2 separate regions of the Homo sapiens genome follow, and region 2 is linked to region 1. The links are contacts of gene promoters, found by promoter capture Hi-C in human tissues and cell types (Jung and others, 2019). All regions are on one chromosome and are shown on one strand. The core of a region is centred on a gene start or on the middle of the fragment in contact, and the rest is flanking DNA. Distances in the headings are between cores, read along the strand shown.

Evidence for each region. The method cuts DNA at HindIII sites, captures the fragments that hold promoters and counts their contacts. A contact is called where the count stands out against the background at its distance.
Region 2: a contact is called between a fragment that was not itself captured here and the fragment with the promoter of PRSS33 in region 1, in 1 of the 25 tissues and cell types used here (aorta).

Annotation. Positions count from the first base shown.
Region 1 is chr16:2,785,061-2,790,266 of GRCh38, forward strand. PRSS33 (serine protease 33) reads right to left here and starts at 2,500. Exons shown (of 7, transcript NM_152891.3): 1 at 2,473-2,500; 2 at 1,442-1,544; 3 at 1,029-1,061; 4 at 739-901; 5 at 315-586; 6 at 1-111. The coding sequence starts at 1,487. The HindIII fragment of the contact is 27,852 bases long and covers 1-5,206 here.
Region 2 is chr16:3,826,717-3,832,144 of GRCh38, forward strand. The region is part of intron 2 of CREBBP (CREB binding lysine acetyltransferase); the gene reads right to left. Among named protein-coding and RNA genes, the nearest start is that of CREBBP, 51 kb to the right of the region's middle. The HindIII fragment of the contact is 3,192 bases long and covers 2,354-5,428 here.

The DNA.
Region 1 (5,206 bases), core at 1,250-3,749:
TGCGCTCAGCCTGGGGCACGTCCGCGCCCACGTGGTAGAGGCCGTCGCAGGTGCGCGAGTCCAGCAGCGGCACCCTTACTCCTTGTAGCGGTCGCCACTCTGGGAGGGGCACTGGGGGAAGAGGAGGGACCTCTGAGAGGAAGGCGTGGAGCGGGGGCCAGTGGGAGAAGCTGAGCTCTGAGTGAGAGGAGGTTTTGTTCCCTAGAAGCCGCGCTGGGTCCTGGATTGGGGCAGTGAGGGGCTGGGATTTCCAGTCAGATGGAGGAGGACGTGGGGGCTCCCGGATGCCTCGGAGCCCCGCCCTCCTGCCTTACCTCCTGGGCGGAGGCTGCCCCAGCCGGTGACCCGGCATGGTGTGCCGGGCGGCGGGCGGGCGCCGGGCACGGGCAGGCAGACGGGTTGGACGCGAGCGCTCAGGGGCACCGGGCGACGCAGCTGCAGCAGTGCCAGGTCGCCGCGGGCCCCGTCCTCGGAGTAGTCCGGGGGCAGCAGCACCCGTCGCACGGGCACCGAGAGCGTGCGGGGCGAGGTGGAGCCCAGACGCAGCGCCCCCAGGCGCACGCGGTACTCAGCTGGCAGTGCCCTCCTGCAGGACAGGAGCGGGGGACTACTTCCAGCACCGGGTCCTCGACCCCCTCCAGCCCGCCTCGACCCCAACGCCTCTGCCAGGCCACGCCCGGTCCTCTGCGGGCCTTGCCTTCCTTGCACACCCCGCCTGGGCCCTCGGTGAGCGCTGACCTGGGGAAGCAGTGCGCCGCTGTCAGCACCCACTGGGGGGCGATGAGCGACCCCCCGCACACGTGTGCCCCACGATGCTGGATGCTCGCCTGCCACGGCCACTCTCCGTCCCGGCCATCCCGGCCCCCAACGATCCGACTGGACATGCGGGGCTGCCCGCAGGCTAGAAAAGGACCAGGGGCGGTGAGGGTTGGCTGAGGACCTGGGGCCTGGGAGGCAGGTGTTGGTGGGGAGACACGGGGCCGAGGTCCAGGAGGGGCTGACTCGGGTGGACTCCGAGGCTTCCTCACCTGCAGACTTCCTTCCCTGAGTCCCAGCAGCTCCTGGAGGAGGAAGCAGGGAAGGGACCAGATTATAGATTTGGTGTCAAATAACGGAGTTGGAGGGGAGGCCAGAGATGAGGAAGGAGGGTGAAACAATGTTGCCCTGACATTGCGCCAGGCTTTCGTGCCGTCTGTTATCTTATTTAACCCTCCCCAGAGCACTGTGAAGGTGCAGGGGGCAAGGGCGTATGAGCATGACACCGACAAGCACATCGAGGTGTGGTGAGGTCAAGGTCAGTGGCAGAGAGGATTGAGCCCTTGGAATCAAGATTAGAAAGCCCAAGAGTGCTCCAGGGAGCCCGGCCCAGGGAGCAGTGAGATGGGAGAACTGGGAGCCAAGGTGTCTGCGGCCCTCACCCCCAGTCCCTGTCCCCACTCACCCAGCACCAGAAGGAGCAGGACCTGGAGACAGGAAACCCCTCTCATTCTGTCTTCAAGGCTGGGCTGGGTAAGGGTGGCACTGCCTAGGGCTTGGACTCTGGTCTGGAGCCAGCAGGGAGAAGAGAGGAGAGTCCTGGCCCAGGGGCACCAATCCTCACACCAGCCCGTCACCCCCTCCGTGGTCCTTCTGTCTGTCCTCAGCTCCTGGTGGGTTCTGGACTTATCCTGGTGGCCCAGGCTGTATACCCTTCGTTCTGCCCAGGGCCCAGGTATGCAGCACCCACCACCCAGATATTTGGGCATCCTTGGTCTCGACAGAAGCCCTGGAGCCTAACCCCCCTCGGTCATCCTCACTCCCTCCCTCATCCCCCTCCCCCATCCTCACCCCCTCCCTCATCCTCACCCCCTCCCTCATCCTCACTCCCTCCTCCATCCTCACCCCCCTCCTCCTCACTCCCCTCCCTTATCCTCACCCCTTCCCTCATCCTCATCCCTCTCTCATCCTCACCCCCTCCCTCATCCTCACCTCCTCCTCTATCCTCACCCCGTCCTCCATCGTCACCCCTGCTCCTCCTCACTCCCCTCCCTCATCCTCACCCCCTCCCTCATCCTCACCTCTCATCCTCACCCCTCTCTCATCCTCACCCCTCCCTCATCCTCACCCCTCCTCTATCCTCACCCCCTCCTCCATCCTCAGCCCCCTCCTCCTCACTCCCCTCCCTCATCCTCACCCCCTCCCTCATCCTCACCCCTGTCTCATCCTCACCCCCTCCCTCATCCTTCACCCCCTCCCTCATCCTCACTCCTCTCTCATCACCCCTCCTCCATCCTTCACCCCCCCATCGTCACCCCCTCCCTCATCCTCACCCCCTCCTCTATCCTCACCCCCTTCCTCCTCACTCCCCTCCCTCATCTTCACCACTTCCCTCATCCTCACCCCCTCCCCCATCCTTCACCCCTCCTCGTCCTCACCCTCATCCTCACCCACTGGCTGCCCCTGCAGCCCCCACAGCCCCTGGCTTGCTCTCACCCTCACAGCCTGGCGCCTTCTGCTGACTGGGGTTGAGGGAGGGCCTGGGGGCTTAAAGTGCCAGGAGAGCGCGAGGCTCAGCCAAGGAGTAATGAACAGGGCCGGGGCGGGGCTGTGGCTTTACCGGACCAGCCTCAAACAAAGATGCTTTGAGCAGAGCTTCAGAGGTGGCAGGAAAGGGTCAATGGGTTTCTCAAAGGAAGCCTGCCTTGCGCCAAGGTACTAGAAGTGGGGGCTGGCGGAGAGCAGTGGTGCGGGTAGGTGCTGGGAGGGGTGGCAGTCAGGTGGGGAAGCTCTGCAGGATCCGGGGCAACTCCTCTCCAAACCTGACCTGGGCTCCCTGCAGAGCACACGTTGCTGGAGCTTCTGCGCTCCATTGTTCTGTCCAGAAATCCCATCTCAGACGGAAGTCCTGGCCAGACAGCTCCACCCAGAGACCCCAGCATGGCCAGCCCCCTTCCAGATCCGGGGTCTGGAGCAGCTGGAGGTGGAAAGGGACTGGTTCAAAGTTGGTGGCACTCCTTACTTGACCAGAGGCAGGGGGAGACTTGACCTTGGGGACCAGTGCAGTCTTTGGTTTGGGGTGGCCGAGACAGAGCAAGATGCTGGGGTCAGGGGACAGGAACTCCCCTTCTCTCGAGGCCCGTGGAGGACCGGGGCCCGGATGGTCCAGGGCCCTGTAGTTCCCTCTTGGGCTCATACACAGTGTTCGCTGCCTAGAAGTCTCTCAAGTCCCTCTCTGCATAGTGAACTCCTCTTATCCCTCAGCCTTCTGCTCTGCCACCTCCTCCTGCCTCCTTTGCAGCCCTGCCATAGTTGTACTTTTTTCCTTTTTTTTTTTTTTGTTTTTCTTTCTTTTTTTTTTTAAAGAGACAGGGTCTTGGCCAAGCATGGTGGCTCATGCCTGTAATCCCTGCATTTTGGGAAGCCGAGATGGGTGGCTCATTTGAGGTCAGGGGTTTGAGACGAGCCTGGCCAACATGGTGAAACCTCGTCTCTACTAAAAATACAAAAATTAGCCAGGCCTGATGGTGGGCGCCTGCAATCTCAGCTACTCGGGAGGCTGAGGCACAGGAATTGCTTGAACCCGGGAGGTGGAAGTTGCAGTGAGCCGAGATTATGCCACTGCACTCCAGCCTGGGCGACGCAGTGAGATTCTGTCTCAAAAAAAAATAAAAAGGGAGAGAGAGACAGGGTCTTGCTCTGTCACCCAGGCTGGAGTGCAGTGGTACAATCACAACTCCCTGCGTCCTTGACCTCTGGGCTCAAGTGATCCTGCCACCTCAGCTTCCCAAGTAGTTGGGACCACAGGTGCATGCCACAGCACCTAGCAATTTTTTTTTCCAGAGATGGGGTCTTGCAATGATGCCCAACTTGTTCTCGAACTCCTGGGCTCAAGAGATCCTCTTGCTGTAGTCTCCCAAAGTGCTGGGGTTATAGGCATGTGCCACCGAGGCCAGCCCATAGTTGTCCTTTGACAGGGACTTGAGGAGGTTTGATTTACATCCTCTTGTCTCCCCTCCAGCATCAGGGTCTGGGTCTGTGTCCCTGTAGGAGTCCGCTTGGGCTGCCATAAACAAAAACCACAGCCGAAGGGGCTTTCTTTTTTTTTTTCTGAGACAGAGTCTTGCTCTGTCTCCAGGCTGGAGTGCGGTGGCGTGATCTCGGCTCACTGCAACCTCCACCTCCCGGGTTCAAGCTATTCTCCTGCCTCAGCCTCCTGAGTAGCAGGGATTTACAGGTGCGCGCCATCACACCCGGCTAATTTTTTTTTTTTTTTTGTATTTTTAGTGGAGACGCGGTTTCACCTTGTTGGCCAGGATGGTCTTGATCTCTTGACCTCATGGTCCGCCCGCCTCGGCCTCCCAAAGTGCTGGGATTACAGGCGTGAACCACTGCGCCCGGCCGTGGGGGCTTAAACAACATAAATGTATTGCTCATGATTCTAGAGCCTGGGAATTCCAAGATCAAGGTGCCAGTAACATAGTTTTCATTCTAAGGCCACTTTTCTTGGCTTGTTGGGTGGCCTGCATCTTGCTGTGTGCTTCCGTGGCCTCTGTGTGCATGAGGGGAGGGAGAGAGACAGGTTGCACTCTTGTCACTTCTTATGAGTGACACAGAACGGCTGGGCTCCCACCTTCAAGCCTGGAGCCCCAGCCCTAAGTGAAAACATCTGACCCTGTTTTTCTGCCCAAATGATTGCCTTCTTGGCCCACCCCGCCCCCTAACCTGTACCGGTAAAAACCAGACCAGATGGCAGAAGAAAAGGAAGAAAAGAGCAACACAAGCAGCTGACCAGCAGGGATACAAGCTGCTGAGCCTTGGGGATACATGCGGCTGAGCTTTAGCTGTGGATAGATGCGGCTAACTTCAGATGGTGCGACTTCAGGGAAAGATCACCTTCCTTCCGCATCAATTCCCCATCCTGCTGACAGCCACTTTTATCACCCATTGAAATCCTCCGCATGCACTACCTTCCAAATAGCTCATGTGACCTGGTTCTTCCTGGACACTGAACAAGAACTCGGGTGTCAAAAAGGGCAGGTGCAGGATGCTGTCACCCTGACCCTTCACTGAACTGTTAATATTTAGCCATCCACGAACAACAGCTGAGTGAAACGAGCCACTCCAGTTCCTGCCCACGAAGGGGGTCACAGTCAAGGGAACAAATCCCGTCTCATAAGGACACGAATTCTATTGGATTAGGGTCCTACTCTTTTTTTTTTTTTTTTTT
Region 2 (5,428 bases), core at 2,700-5,199, 1.0 Mb after region 1:
ACGTCACAATCAAGAGGCGCCTAAGGAGACAGGACGATTAAAAGTAATGGGGTATCATGGATGGTATTCCACAACAGAAGGACATTAGGGAAAATTAAAGGAAATTTGATTAAAGTATGGACTTCAGTTAATCACAAGTATCAGTATTGGTTCATTACTTATGACAAACACAACACAGGAAAGGTAAGAGGCTAACAATAGGAAGTGCGTGGATGGTGGGGAGGAGATAAAGAACCCTGTTGTACTATCTTTTAATTTTTCTGTAAATCTAAAACTGTTCTCAACATAGAGTCTACTCAGTCAGTTGCACCGCCTGTAGTTTCATCTACTGAGAAAGTTGAGGCTTGAGGATCGCTTAAACCCAGGAATTCAAGGCTGTAGTACACTATAATTGAGCCTGTGAACGGCCACTGCTTGGGCAACATAATAGCAAGATCTATCTCTCTAAAAAAAATTTAAGTCTACTTAAAAAATGAAAAGAAAAAAAAAAACTATGAAGGAAATGTGATAAGTATCAACAGGCATTAATTCTAATGAAAACACAGATGTTGGTTATACTATCCTTTGTTCTTGTGTTGAAAATTTAAAAAACTCAGAACATAAAAATCAAACCTTTCCTTGCTACCATAATGTAAGAAAAATATTTTTCAAAAAGTGATCTTGCTTACTTTTTATTTTATTGATTGATTGACTGAGACAGAGTCTCACTCTGTTGCCCAGGCTGGAGTGCAGTGACGCAATCTCGGCTCACTGCAACCTCCCCCTTCCAGGTTCACGAGATTCTTCTGCCTCAGACTCCCGAGTAGCTGGGACTACAGGCGCCCGCCACCACGCCCGGCTAATTTTTTATATTTTTAGTGGAGACGGGGTTTCACCTAGTTAGCTAGGATAGTCTCGATCTCCTGACCTCGTGATCCACCCACCTCAGCCTCCCAAAGTGCTGGGATTACAGGCATAAGCCACCATGCCTGGCTACTTACTTTTTATTTTTTTAGAGACAGGGTCTCTCTGTAGCCCAAGCTGGAGTACAGTGATACAACAATGGCTGACTACAGCCCCGGCCTCCTGAGCTCAAGTGATCTTCCTACCTCAGCCTCCTGAGTAGCTGGGACTATAGGCACGTGCCACCACACCCAGCTAATTTTTAAAATGTTTTGTAGAGATGGAGTCTCACTGTGTTGCCCACACTGGTCTCAACCTCCTTGGCTCAAGCAATCCTCCTGCCTCAACCTCCCAAAGTGTTGGGATTGCAGGTGTGAACCACTGCACCTGGCCAAGATCACTTTAAAAAATAATGTTTAAGAAAATTAATTATGCTGGCCTCTTGCACATAGGCCAAGGCACATTTTTCTAGCCAGAAAAGCTGACTTCTTTTTTTTTTGTTTTGTTTTTGAGACAGAGTCTCTCGCTCTGTCACCCAGGCTAGAGTGCAGTGGCGCAACCTCGGCTCACCGCAACCTCTGCCTCCTGGGTTCAAGCTACTCTCCTGCCTCAGCCTCCCGAGTAGCTGAGATTACAGGCATGTGCCACCATGCCCAGCTAATTTTGTATTTTGAGTAGAGATGAGGTTTCTCCATGTTGGTCAGGCTGGTCTCGAACTCACGACGTCAGGTGATCCACCCGCCTCGGCCTCCCAAAGTACTGGGATTACAAGCGTGAGCCACCATGCCCGTCGAAAGCTGACTTCTTTATGGGTCTTACAAAAATTGCTTGGCTGAATTAGTATTTCAGATTAAGAGCCATAACCCAATCAGACCACAGGCAAAGCTTACAGCATACAAGGGTATGTTTCTAAAAAGGAATAAGCAGTAAATTCTTTCATTTGACAAAAATACTCCTGGGAAATTAGACTCACTCTCCAGGTTACCTGTTCTATAAATTTCGTGCATGGGGGAAAACCTGACCCACACACAGAAAATAAGGTCTTATGTATTTCACCATCATAGTTTGAATACAGCTGTATTACAGACAAAATGATGCAGTCGAAAAAAATACAGGCTTGGAGTCAATCACAGGTGGATTTTAAGTAAAATTCTACCACTTTCAAACATGTGTCGTCTTGAATAATTTTCTGCATAGGCAGGAAAGTGGTTCAGAATATTTTACTCCTTGTTATAAAAGACATATGGCACCCACCTCACAGGATTATTAAAAATGAGAAAAAGCAAGATCATGTTTGCAAAGCACCCAGCACAGTGCCCAGTACAATAGGCATGTCCTTTTCTGCTCTTCCTCTTACTGTTATTCAGGAAGAATAAATATAGTAATTGTTATCCTTGCTCATACCTGGATCACACTGAAATTTTATGCTATAGTCATATACATAATTTTGAAAAATGCAAAAAAAAAAAAATTACATGGTAATCAACATAAAAACCCTTAGATATTTTAACTTGGTGACAGATGGACAGCAAATTACTGTCTATGGTAATTTGTATAAATATAACTCTTTTTAAAATATAGCAAAAATATTTTGGAAAAGTTGGTCCTTGAAGTTATGATTTGGACCCATTTACATTAAGAATGTTAGATGTGGCACTTCCCAAGTTTCTACAGTGAACTTAATCCTCAGACGATTCAGAAGATGAGAGATAACGTTTAAAGTGTGAAATACACAGTCACTACGGGACAACCATTATATATCATAATGTTACGTTCACACCATTAAAATGGAGAGTATCTCCCAGTGCGACCACACACAACAATCACATCACCAACACCTCCTAGGGCTTACTGGAGCTGTAACTAAGTGTGCAGGACTACGAAGGAATTGTGAATTGAACAGATTCCAGAGGTGGCACAGTGCTAGAGACATAGAAGTTCTGATCAGTCGGAGTTTCAAGATCTTGCTGAACATCCCAGGAATTAAACTGAGACCCCAAGGCCATGTCTAAGGAACAGGGCTTCAAGACCTGCCCTAAGTTAAGTTTAAAAACAAGCTTTGAGAGAATCAAACTGATCTGAGTAATTAAGAGCCTGCCAGAACAAAACAAACTAATAAAGGACAATAAAACCCATATTCAACAACATTATCATCCACCATTTCCACTACACAGTCTAAAAGTACTGGACATGCCAAGGAGCAGGAAGATGTGACCCATAACCAGGAATTCTATATTTAAACAAACAAGACTGTAAATGAAACAGATACAGAGATGACAGAGATGTTGGAATTTGCCTCTACAAGAAGAGCAGGAAGGGAGAAAAAAAGGAACAAAACACAGAAGCAGCAAACAGAAAACAAATAAGATGAGAAACCTAAACCCAACAATTATCAACATTAAATATAAATAAACTAAACACTACAATTAAAAGACTAAGGTTATCAGAATAAATTAAATAAGATCTAATGCTACGCTGCTTACAAGAGACATACTTAAGAGACAAAGTTAAGAGTGGGCTGGGTGTGGTGACTCATGCCTGTAATCCCAGCACTTTGGGAGGTCGAGGTGGGCAGATCGCTTGAGCTCAGGAGTTTGAGACCAGCCTGGGAAACATGGTGAAACCCTGTCTCTACTAAAAATACAAAAAAATAGCCAGACGTGGTAGTGTGTGCCTGTGGTTCCAGCTACTCAGGAGGCTGAGGTGGGAGGATCACCTCACCCGGGGTGGGGGGCAGAGGTTGCAGGGAGCCCAGACTGCGCCACTGGACTGCAGCTTAGGTGAGAGTGACATCCTGTATCAAAACAAAACAAAACAAAAAGAGTGAAAAAAAAATGTGAATGCTAATCATAAGGAGTCTACATTAAATATGAGAAAAAGGAGATAAAGACAAAGAATATTAACAAAAACAAATATTTCATAATGATAAAAGGCTAAATTTACCAGAGGCATTACAATCCAAAATACATATTAACCTAATAAAACAGTTTCAAAACACATGAAACAAGTACTTACATTTTGTTCTGACTAAATGAAAAACCAGACAAACCTAAAATTGTAATTGTAGATTTTAATAATCCTCTCTTAGTAACCAATAGAACAAAAAAATCATAAGGATTTGAACACCATCAACCAACTTATTCTAATAGACAATTATGAAACATCACATCCCACAACTGTAGGATACACATTCTATTTTTATGAGACAGAGTCTTGCTCCGTACCCAGGCTGAAGTGCAGTGGCGCGATCTCAGCTCACTGTAACCTCTACCTCCTGGGGTGAAGCGATTTTTGTATCTCAGCCCCCTCAAGCAGCTGCAACTACAGAAGCGCACCACCAAGCCTGGCTATTAATTTTTTTTGTACCTTTAGTAGAGACAGGTTTCACCACGTTGGCCAGGCTGGTCTAAAACTCAAGTGATCTGTCCGCCTTGGCCTCCCAAAGTGCTGGGATTACAGGCATGAGACACTGCGCCTGATCATTCTTTTCAAGTATAGATAGAATATTTGTCAAGAAAAACCATTTGCTGGGCCGTAAGACAAGTCTTCAATTTCAAAGGACAACCACCATACAAAGCATGTTTTCTGAACACAGTGGAGTTAAAAACCAACAATAAAATATCTGCAAAATTCCTAAATATTTAAAAGCTAAACACACTTCAGCATAATCCATGGGTCAAAGAATAAATCACATGTAAAATATAAACATATTTTAAACTAATTTAAAAAATGTATTAAAATTTGAGATGCAATTAACAACAGTATTTGGGGTACTTTTTTATGTTTATGGATTTAAAGGATTCAAAGAAATGGGGAAATAAAAAAGATGCATAGGGTTTAAGGAGAAATTTATTGCCCAAATGTTAATATTGGAAAAGTCTAAATAACCAGTGATACAAACTTCTACCCCAAAGAAAAGCCAACATAAGCAGAAGAAAATAAAGACAGAAATAAATGACATAGAAAACAAACAAGAAAAGGCTGACAACAACAAAAGCTGGCTGTTTGAAAATATTAATAAAATGGACAAACCCCAACCTAGATCAATGAGAGAAAAACAAGAGAGCACACCAGACATTATTATAAATTCTATCCAAATTAAGAAAAGAGTACAGAGGCCGGGCATGGTGGCTCACACCTATAATCCCAGCACTTTGGGAGGCTGAGGCAGGCGGATCACTTGAGGTCAGGAGTTCGACACCAGCCTGGCCAACATGGCAAAACCCCTCCTCTACTAAAAATACGAAACTTAGCCAGGCATGGTGGTGTGCGCCTGTAAGCACAGCTACTTGGGAGGCTGACGTGGGAGAACTGTTTGAACCCAGGACGTGGAGGCTGCAGTGAACTGAGATGATGCCACTGTACTCCAGCCTGGGCAACGGAGTGAGACTCTGACTCAGTTAAAAAAAAAAGAAAGAAAAAAAAGAAAAGAGTAGAGAAATGTTATGAACACCTTCATGCCAAATCAATTCAAGAACTTAAAATGGATATATTACTCAAAAATACAAATTACCAAAATTAGCACAAGAAGCAGAAAATTTGAATA